Linked DNA regions of Homo sapiens: region 1 is linked to region 2. The links are contacts of gene promoters, found by promoter capture Hi-C in human tissues and cell types (Jung and others, 2019). All regions are on one chromosome and are shown on one strand. The core of a region is centred on a gene start or on the middle of the fragment in contact, and the rest is flanking DNA. Distances in the headings are between cores, read along the strand shown. Region 1 overlaps TANC2 (tetratricopeptide repeat, ankyrin repeat and coiled-coil containing 2). Region 2 holds the start of MRC2 (mannose receptor C-type 2).

Evidence for each region. The method cuts DNA at HindIII sites, captures the fragments that hold promoters and counts their contacts. A contact is called where the count stands out against the background at its distance.
Region 1: a fragment that was not itself captured here is called in contact with the fragment with the promoter of MRC2 in region 2 in 1 of the 25 tissues and cell types used here (dorsolateral prefrontal cortex).

Annotation. Positions count from the first base shown.
Region 1 is chr17:63,113,008-63,118,534 of GRCh38, forward strand. The region is part of intron 4 of TANC2 (tetratricopeptide repeat, ankyrin repeat and coiled-coil containing 2); the gene reads left to right. Among named protein-coding and RNA genes, the nearest start is that of TANC2, 150 kb to the left of the region's middle. The HindIII fragment of the contact is 3,905 bases long and covers 877-4,781 here.
Region 2 is chr17:62,624,267-62,629,692 of GRCh38, forward strand. MRC2 (mannose receptor C-type 2) reads left to right here and starts at 3,404. Exons shown (of 30, transcript NM_006039.5): 1 at 3,404-3,654. The coding sequence starts at 3,537. It overlaps LOC107985020 (a long non-coding RNA gene), which reads right to left and starts at 3,784. Exons shown (of 2, transcript XR_001752961.3): 1 at 3,579-3,784; 2 at 2,171-2,743. RefSeq lists enhancers at 1,129-1,629, 1,630-2,130 and silencers at 3,324-3,763, 3,964-4,033. The HindIII fragment of the contact is 9,538 bases long and covers 1-5,426 here.

The DNA of each region.
Region 1 (5,527 bases), core at 1,579-4,078, 490 kb after region 2:
CACCTGCTATGGAATGTGAGCAGTTTAGAAAGTGGCAAATGTGGAATTTAAGGGCTAAACAATTTTGGCCATGAGGAATACTTTTCAGTCACAAAGCATCACAAAAGTCAAATAAATATCCACGATTCAAAAGAAAGCCTTAGTAACTCTCTAAACAGGAAATAAATTATAGTATGGGATAATATAAAGCTTAGAACAGAATATATGTTCACATTATAACAACAGAAATTTTTATAATGCTAAACTATATATTTATTCTCATTATAGAAAATTATGCACCCAAATTGACATTCAGCCCATAAGAGTAATAAACACGTGGCATGGCAGAGTAACTCCCTCTCTTAGAGGAGGATTTTAAACACCAGAGGGCAGAGTGTTCCAGAGGACATTTTCAGTTCAGCTGGCCTTTCTTAATTGTAAATGCGCATCCTTACCTTGTCCGTCAGTCATTCATGTCGTGGGCAGAATTTCAAAAGTTAAGAAATGTGGTTATTTCATTTTACTTATTTTTTTCTTAAGACACAGAGTCCTGCTTTGTCACCCAGACTGGAGTGTGGTGGCACAATCACTGCTCATTGCAGCCTCAACCTCCTGGGGTCAAGAGATCTTCCCACCTCAGCCTCCTGAGTAGCTGGGACTACAGGCGTGCACCACCATACCTGGCTAATTTTTTCATTATTTTGTAGAGATGGGGTCTTGCTATGTTGCCCAGGCTGGTCTAAAGTCCTGGGCTCAAGCAACCCTCTCACCTCGGTCTCCCAAAGCACTGAGATTACAGGTGTGAACCACTGTGCCCAGCCAAGAAATATGGTCATTTTAGAATTGTCTATGTGGTATTATCTGTTTTGATGACTTTGTTTAGATAGCACAATGAGCAGTGTTTTGAGTTATACCAGAGTTGGTTGAACATCTCTGTTTTCCCCATTTCTGGTTAATGTTCATGTTTCTGATTTCTGAAAACGATTTTTAGAAAAAATTATGTATACATCTATATCATTCAGTAAATTTTATAACTTTAGATTAATGAAGTAAGTAAAGTGAGAGAAAGGAGATTTGATATGTGTATCTTATGGCTCAGTATGCCCTTTTATGCCCTGCTTATCAATAAAAACATTCTGAAAGAACCACCTGCCAACTCATGACCTTTTTCAAATGTTACAATTATCATTTAGAGGTAGCATCACACATTTGGGATAATTTTATTCAGGGTTTAGATAGTAAAGTCAACATATAAAATAAAAACTGAGTATAAAGAAAATTATCCTCAGAAATCCATTACATATCATTCACGACATTCATTAAACAGAAATACTGCTTCTCAGTATATCCAACCCTGCCAGTTTATCCTTTAGAGTTGTAACTATTTTACTCTTTACTCTCTTTTTCTTTGACCACCAGATGAAGTAGTTGGCTGATGTATAGGGATCACATATATGATTTTTAAGAATATATTTCTTTTTCTTCTCTGTCACTCATTACCCTACTGCTGCAGATTGAAGTCCTGATCTGAAGCAGTAGCCATTGCTAGGAAAGACACAACCCCGCGTAGAAAGTTGGCCAAAGCTTGAATTGCTATAGCTAGTAGAATGGTTACTTTCTTAACTCCTGTGAGAATAGAGATTTCGTATGTACATCTCTTCATAAATATTACCCTACCTTTAAGCACAATAGAGTTTAGCACGGATGATTACTCCTTAGAGAAAGCTTTTAATATAGCAAGACTGAAAAAAGAATAAAAATAAAAAAGAATGTAAAACTGTATAAGTTTTAGCATGACTTACCTAAATTAATCATAAAGGAGTTAAAAATTAGTAACCAAGGGGAAGAGCTTAACTCCTTAAATCTCTCTCCACCCTTAAGTTAAATCCAATTTTTCAAGCAAAACAAAACCTGTGTACTTTGTCTTTTGAAGTATTTTAATCATGTCCTCATCCCAGTTAGCTCCTACACAGCATAAGCAACGTTAGAAAAAATTATTTGTTGTCCAAGTTTACATTTTTTGCAGAACTTTTCTGGTATCTCTCTAATGCAAAGATCTGCTCAACATGACTTGATGATGGGGAGGTGGGAGAGAAAGTTGCTCTTTTTACCTAAGATATTGAATAATTAGTATTCTAAAAAGTCACAACTGAAGAGAATTTCCCTCAAAAATAACTACTGGCACAAGACAATATTTGAGTTAAAAAACTTACTAGGTAGAAGAGATTAGATTATCCAGGAAACAGAATGAGATAGGCTGTCCATGGAATTTCCAAGTCAAACATAATAGCTCATTTTTGAGTTTGCCCTACAGTTTTCTAGTTAGGTAGGATAAAAAGTAATAGGTTATTTTAAACAACTCAATCACTTTGCATGTTCTTTGATATTAACCATTCCATAGAAACCACTTATACTTCTTTATTACCAAGTTACTATTTTCTGAAGACATTTATAAGTCATGTTGAGGCAGTAGAATTACTTGTACATTATTATATTAAATAATCCTTGAACGCTAGTCCGCAGTATCTGTATCTACTATAATTCTAAAAAGAAATAGCTACTAGCTACTTGTGAAAAGTATATGCAGTGTGATGGGACACAATATCCAGTCAAACATAAAACCTAGCCTGGAAAAATATTTACCCTTTCAGGCAATTTTCTGTGTTTATGGAGTTCTATTGAAATTCCACTTTTCATTTTTCTTTGCTGTTTTGCTTAGATACTATTAAAAAAGATAATATAGATGTTTAGAATTTTAAGCCTTTGCTTTGTATTTATTTTTTTCTATTCCCACAGTAGCTTTAGGAATAAGGTAGAAAATGCTTTACTGAGATGAATCAGTGGGTCAGAGTAGTTAGGTGCCTTACTCAGGGTTATATTTAGAAGTAGCAAAGCTGTTAGTCCAACTACAGTCAAGACTAGTCAAATGCATGTCCATCCCACTACATTGCAATTCTTTTTAGTCACATTTTACTGAGGTTCTTCATTTATGGAGATAAATGCATCATAAATCTATGACCAACAAATACGTAACTTTTCCAGAATTGGTATTATAATGGCAGTGTTGCCCATGTAAGAGAATGGTATAATAGGTAAATTTACCTAATATTTTGCTTTGTATTGTATCTGAATATTGCATTAAATAAATGGTGATGGAAAAGTAACACAGAGATATGATATAGAACAATTTCATATAGAACTACCCTATATAAATAGATGAAATATCATAGCATCAGTGACCCATGCTTAATAAATCTAATGAAAGATATTTTTCTGCACCAGTCATCTCAGAGCAACATCCAGAAGACTATAGAGAGAGTACCATTACGACAATTCTATGCATTGGTGCTTTCACTGGCTCCCTCTTCTCCTGTGATACCGTTTGGAAGCTATCCTACTATCCCCTGGAAGGGGGAGCTCTTCCTAATTCCTGGGAGGTGAGGGAAAACTATGACAAGAAAACGATTGTCCAGGCCCAGTTAGGGAGAGGCCTTTAGAAGCATGGAGTGGACCAGTAACCCTGTCTTACAAGTGATTGACGGAGAAGTTTTCTTGTTCATGAATGAAGGCTATGAGCATTTTTAGTGAAGTAAGTGTCTTTTGAAACTTTCTTTATCTAGAAGGAATACAGGTGATAGTATGCCTCTCTTTGAAATTGGTGTCATTGCTACTTTATTAGTCAATCAGTTGATAGTGCTGCAGTTTTGGCATATCTGATGCATACCATCTGAATGAAAGGCATTTAATTAGGGTTTTAATATCTCTAAGTATTTAAAAATGAATTTTCTGCTATCTCAAACTCTAGACAGTTCCTTACATTGCAACAAAATCACTGTATAATTTTAACACTTAATAAATTATGGAGATACTGCAGACCTATATTAGCTTGCTAAAGTATTAATATTTTAAATTACCTCAATTGCATTTTTTGTTGGTGCCTACTAAGTAACTGTTTTACAGCGTATATTCACACAGCTCTGATTCAGAAAATCAGAAGAGCAAAACATGAGAAGGAAACAGTAAGAGAGGAGTTTACAGCTTTAAGGCATGAGGAGCTTACAGCTTTTTAATATAAATTGTTCCCAGAATCCATGTCACAGATCCTTATATGGTGCTGCTTTTTTCCTCTTGGTTGCTATGACAACAGCAGCACTGCACCATTCATCAGCTCTGGACCTGGGCTGCACTGCTAGCCTTCCTTGTTACTCCTGAATGTTAAGAAGAACATCCGTGAATCATTCACTCTGTTAACGCTGCGCCATTAGAAACCTAAGAACCAGTTCTTCCAGTAATTTGCTCTAACAGAGGGTGAACTAAACTGCGCCACAGAGAAAAATTGTGTAAAAATATTTCTTTTATCCTAATGGAATCATACAACCTATATTTGCTGCAGTATTCTGAAAGGACAAGCTTATGTCAACCAATCTAATGAAAAGAACTCGTCTGTGTAATCTCTTGAAATCATTAGTTGTTCAAAACAGAATACCACAGTGCTTCTCTGGATACAAAAAGAAGCAGGTGATGTTGTTAGGGGTTCTAAACCCCTTTGGGAGCATCTCTTGTGCTTTGGGACCATAATCAACATCTGCTATAAGAAGTATCACCTGTAACGCACAGTAAGTTCTGGGCAGCGTAAAGAGCTGGCTGGAGATTAAAGTGTGGGTCATTCCTGATGTGTCAGGTCTGATAACAACATGACCAGTGAATAAGAAGCCTTTCAGCTTTTCTAGGGGAAAAGACTCTGTAGTATTGACTAGTGAGGAAGAAAAACTAAAACCTGTGAGTATGATGAGTAGAGTATTTGTTACGTGGATTTCTGAGCTGTAAAGTCTACTTTGTTCTTTATAGAAAAATAAACACAGCCTAAGATAATTTGACATCTAGTTTTCAAGGAAGCCATTAAGAAGCTGTATTTTGGCACATTTATTTAATTTTTAATTGTGTGTTCTTTTGCTTTATATATTTATATGCATATATGAACCTTTTGAAATGGTTTTATATTTTAAAAAAGAATATGCATTGCAGAGAAGCCTGTTAAAAACTCAATTTTTCAATGTAAATGTGAAGGTTAGATTGTCTCTCCTGTTAGATTGCAATTCCAGAATAGAGCTCTACTTCCTGTTGCAGTATCCTTATAAATAAAATACCTTTTTTAAAAAATAACAATATGGAAATCTAGAATTTTGTAAACAAGCTTTCTTAATACATAAAATCATTCTTGTTATTTCATTAACTGGAGTGTTTACAAATGGACTTTCTTAGTTTAAGAATTTTTTTTAACAACACAATTTGCAAGTTATGATATTTATTGTCTTATTTTCTCAGTTGAGTTTAGACTAAATTAGAAATTTACCTTTGTTTACTTGTATTTTTAGATCATTTGGTAATTATCAACAAGATATATTGATTTTATATACTGACTTTTCTTAAAAGACTCTTTGTTTTCTGGCTTTTAATTATTTTCTCTTTTTAGTTCCTCAGCTAACCATGGTAACTTAGAAATGTCTTGAAAGTAGGAACTTGGTTTTTCAAAATTAGGATATTTGTA
Region 2 (5,426 bases), core at 2,154-4,653:
AGGCTGAAGCAGGTGGATCACCTGAGGTCAGGAGTTTGAGACCAGCCTGGCTAACATGGTGAAACCCCTCTCTACTAATTAGCTGGGCATGGTGGCACGTGCCTGTAATCCCAGCTACTCAGGAGGCTGAGGCAGGAGAATCGCTTGGACCTAGGAGGTGGAGGTTGCAGTGAGCCAAGATTGCACCACTGCACTCCAGCCTGGGCAATGGAGTGAGACTTGATCTCAAAAAAAAAAAAAAAGAAAAGAAATATCTGAGGCTGGGTAATTATAAAGAAAAGAGGTTTAATTTGCTCATGGTTCCACAGGTTGTACAGGAAGCATGATGCTGGCATCTGCTCAGCTTCTAGGGAGGCCTCAGGAAACTTAAAATCATGGCGGAAGGGATGCAGCAGTTCACATGGCTGGAGCAGGAGCGAGACAGAGAGTGGAGAGGTGCTGCACACTTTTAAATGACCAGTTCTCGTGAGAACTCACTGTCATGAGAACAGCATCAAGAGGATGGTGCTAAACCATTCATGAGAAATCCACCCCCGTGATCCAATCACCTCCCACCAGGGCCCACCTCCAACACTGGGGATTACAATTTGACATGAGATTTGGGCGGGGACACAGATCCCAAACCATATCACCCTCAGTACCTGTTGCTGGCTGACAGTTGGTCAGTGTCTAGGGGAGAACCATTCTCAGCTTCAGTTCCACGATAGCGAATACCATCTTGGCAAAAATCCCCTGGACAAGTCAGAGACCTCACTAAGTCTCCAGCATCTAGCCTGATGCCTGACACATACTGACCCTCAATAAACGGCTGTTCAACTGTGGGCACAGGAATGGTGAGGAGGCTGTGGGCACAGAGGACGCTGGCCCTTCTTTGGAAGCAGATGAAGGTCTGGGTGTTGATGAGGGGTTCCTCGAAAGTCCCATGCTGCTCACAACACCCAACACTCCTACAGACTGTGACCATGTTCTGTTGACAACTGAGCCTGCACAGGATCTTTATGCAGTAGGGAACCGGCCCGGATTCTCCACAGGGAGAATCTCCCAGATGTTTCCCCGCTTTCTGCCCCAAAGTCAAGATCAAAAGCAGTTGGCAGCTGCAGACATCAGCAGAAGTCAGTGGAACACAGTGTGGAACCATGTCGCGCTGGAGGAGGAAGTCTCGCGCTGGAGGAGGAAGTCTCACCCTTGACAGAGACTAGAACTGGGCCTTAGAAGCTTGAACCAACCTCTGTCCCTGCGAGAGCAGCACACTTTTGTGCTCCTCAGCCCTTGCGTCTTCTTTGCCTGGAATATGGCAAAACGTTTATTTTCCCCCACTAAATGAGGCTCCTCTAGGGCTGCAACTGTGTTTGCCCATCTCTCTTTCTCTAGCAGCTAGCACAGGGCTAGCAGTCGGTGCTTGTTGAGCCGGTGGGTGAAGAGACGAGAGCACACCTCCTGTGTGCCCGGCATGGCGGGACCTGGTGCCGGCAAGTGGTGGGCTCTCTGGCCTCATGCTCTGCGCTGGTGATGTCAAGGGGTGGGCTTCTGTCCTGCCACTGATAGTAGGAGGGAAGGCCAGCAGGAAACGCCGAAACCTACTCAAGCTGCTGGAGAAGGGGGAATCCAGCCCTGTTTCAGGGGAAGGAGTATCCTGTGTTCTGAGAGCGAGAGAGCAGCTTAGCCGGCAAATCCTTAAATCCTTCAGAGATTACAGGATTGTGCAAGAGGGAAGGCCAAGAGGGGGACCTCTGAGGCAGCTCCAGCATGGCCTGTTGTGTGCAGAGGACTGAGATCCCAGAACATGCCACACCAAGAAGACATGTCCCAAGGGGCAGTGGAGCCACAGCCACCAGAAGGGACCTGGCCCTGTCGGACCTGCTGAAGCTAGCCGTGGAGTGCAGGGGCTTTGTTGGTCTGGCTGCTAACCAAAGGGTGGCTAATGGGACCCTTTCCAGGGGCCTCTAGGGGATTTCAGTGGGGGCTTGCTTCGAGGCTCTATTACCACTGGACTGTTTACCAAGAGCCTCAGCCTGACAGAGATGGGAAGAGACGAGTGAGCATTTCTGACCCAACACCCCCACTGCAGAGTTGGGGAAACATTTACCCAAGATAGGAGGAATAAAAAGGAAAAAAATTGAATTTATTTCCAAAAAACATACCAAGGTGGACAAGATAGGAAACAATACAATTTATATTACAGTTTTATTATTATTTAAAAATTTTATATTAACAAAATGAGATGGGATCTGCCTATGTTGCCCAGGCTGGTCTTCAACTCCTGGGCTCAATCTCCTCGGCCTCCGAAAGTGTGATTACAGGCGTGAGCCACCGCACCCGGCCCATATTACAGTTTCATAGTGTTTTTGATTACTCGTGGTAGGAGAAATGTGTCTTCTTTGCACTTGGGGTCTCAACGTCTCAGTCCTGCCCTATGCCCCGAGACCCCAAGAGGCTTTCCCAAGGTCAGGCAGGGAATCCGCAGAGAGGCAGGGCTGGACTCCAGCATCCTGACTCCCCAGTTCGTGCTCTGTGCTGCAGAGACCTGTTGCGTAACACTGAGTAACTGTGGATTGTCTAACCTTTTATGAAATTTCCAGCTGGTCTTTTGCTACCGGCCAGCAGTCCAGTTGGTGGGAGTGATGATGCCGGTCTTCTGAGACGTCCAGTGGACAGATTTTCCCCAGGTTTCTGGATGCAGCCCCAACAAGCAAAAGTGCTACACTCCTGCACCGGGAACACTGACACAGGGGTCACGAAAATGCTAAAACAAGACGTGCAAGAATTGTTGCGCTCCGCACACGTAACAAGGGCTCTGCCTCCCCCTCCCCCAATCTTCGCCCTGGTGGCCAGGCCCTGGGCTCCGCCCCTTCCCCACCAGACCGGGGGAGGGGTCCTCCTCGGCATGGAGGTAGGGGATGCTAGGCTGCTGGAGACGCCCGCAGAAAGAGGCGGGATGGCGGGGCGGATGCTGGCGGCCCGGGTCTGGCCACCTGGGTCAGCTGCACGCCCCCGCCCCGGGCTGGCCGGACCTCGTAGCCCAGGTCCCACCACGCCGTGAAGTTTGCGGAAAGTTTTGCAGTTGCTTCCCCGCCCGCGCCAGCGGGGGAGTTGTGACGCAGCGTCTGGGGATCCTGGCCGGGACAGAAGAGAGGGAAGGCGAGGCGGGGAGAGACTGGGAAACAGAGCAGCAAGAGAAAGGGCGCACGCTGGGGTCCTCCTGGACCCGGCGTGTCCTCCTCTCCGCCACCCCTTTCTCTCCCTCCCGACGCTCTAGCCCCAGACCCGCGCCTCCTCCCCTTCCCCTCCCACGCTGCCCACTTCCCTTCCCCTCTACCCCTCGAACCCTCCTCCCCGGTTCTGCGCTCCTCCCTCCGCCCTCCCTCCGCCCGGGCTGCCTCCTCCCTCCTCCTCCCCGGGAGGCATCACTTCGTCCCGACCCGGAGGAGGACGCGAGCCCCTTGCGGGCGGTCATCACAGCCCAGCCTCGGGGCTGCCACAGCGCGTTGCGCCTGTGCGCCCTCGGTCCCCGCGTCCACTGAGCGCCGCGCTCGGGGATGGGGCCCGGCCGGCCGGCCCCCGCGCCCTGGCCTCGTCACCTGCTGCGCTGCGTCCTGCTCCTCGGGTGCCTGCACCTCGGCCGTCCCGGCGCCCCTGGGGACGCCGCCCTCCCGGGTAAGGCGCTGCCAACTTGGCCAACTTCAGGGCCCGGGCGGGGGGAGCGCCGAGGCGCGGGCCGCTCTCGACTTTTCCCTCCTTTTCCCCCCTCTTTTCTCCAGAAGCGTGTGTGCGTGTGTGTGTGACTGGGTTTTTAAAACTCGTCTCCGCTTTTCTGAAAGCGGGGGAGGAGAGGGGAGGAGGAGCGCGCCTAGAGGTGGGGGAGGACCTGAGTGGAACCAGATGTGGCGGGCGGCGGGGGAGGGGAGCCCGGGGGACTCCAGCAGCCTAGGAGGAAGCGGGTGGGCTCTTGAGGACCCCCGCGCACCGCGCTCCCGGACCACCCGGCGCCGGCCCGTCCTCGGCAGGGGACCTGCAGGGCGCGCCCGGGGAGCCAGGGCTCTCTGTCCGGGAGTTCCCGGGCCCAGTCTCCTCGCTCTGCCCCAGGACTGATGCGTTAGGACGGCTTTCCAACTATCCGCGAGGGTTCGTTTCCCCCACCTTCCCCCCGCCCCCTGCATCTCGTGGGCGTTGATATTTTCTTTTCCACACTTAGTCTTCAAGGAGGCTTGTGGCGCGCGGCATCCGCCCCGCGTGAGCTCGGCAGCCCTGTGAGGAGGCTCCTGCCACTGGGACGCAGCAACAGGCTGGGCGCCGCCGTGCTGTGATGTTGCGTAGCGTGGGCAGCTCTGGGCACACTAGTGGCCCTCCAGAGGGGACAGACCTTGAGCGGCAAAAGAGCTGCTAAAGATTTTAAAACCCAACGAACAGGAAACAAAACAAAAATCAGAAAACCCCAAAACTGTGCCATTCTCTTCCTGCTCCTTATTCAGGGGTAACAGTGAAGTGTGGGGACAGACAGATCCCTCGCCAAGAATCTAAGAGTTGAAAGGAAAGATCCACTTCCTGGGGGAGTGGGGGTGGGGGTGTCTGGAGTGACCGGGGGAATCGCCCGGCCCAGCTTGGTCCTGCTGGCTGTTTAATTGGGGGATGGGGACAGTCCGTGCAGTGTCTGCAGTTTTGTGCAAGGACCAGACAGCCCCCTGGAGAGTCTGGGGCCTCCAGCCTGGCCCGTGCTTGCTGGGTTGGCCTGGCGTGACGTAGGCACAAGACACATATCTGCCAGATGGGAAAGGTGGGGGCCACGGTGACCCACATTCACACCAACCGGAGACCCCCGGGGCAATTCTGGGCCCACCTGGCATTGAATGTGGGACAGACACAAACCAGGCCGGGTAACCCCCTAACCCACTGCAGGGCGGCCTCACAGGCAGTTCCCCTACCTCCTCGCACTCCTGCCTTCCTCTGCTCCTCTGCGCAGGGCCTCAGGAGGCAGGCGGTGGGAAGGGGTGGGGAGGATGGCCATTCCCAGAGCTCCAGAGCACACTTTAAAGCCAGGCCCTGGGAGAGAGTTGTGGCCAGAGTGCTGACTCGGCCTTTCCCCCTGGAGCTTTTCATAGAGGGGGCTGGAAGTGCCTGGTGAGAGGCCCGGTCAGGGAGGACAAGGACGCCTGGAGTGTCCCTCCTCCTCCTGGTCTCTGTGCCTGGCCCTCCCTGGGGCTGTGTCCAGGGATGAATAGCCTCAGAGGGTCCCCTTCCCGTTGGCACTGCATTGACCACACCCTGAGGAGGCTTGGATCTGGGTGGCAGGCAGTGTGAGGTCTTCCAGCAGCAGCTGAGCAGGAGGAGGATGGAGCTGCTGCAGGTTCCTTCCCTCGGAACCGTGCCCTCTGCACAGAGTGCGCTTGCCCCTGCCCTGCCAAATTCCACTGGGCCCTACCCTGGGAAGC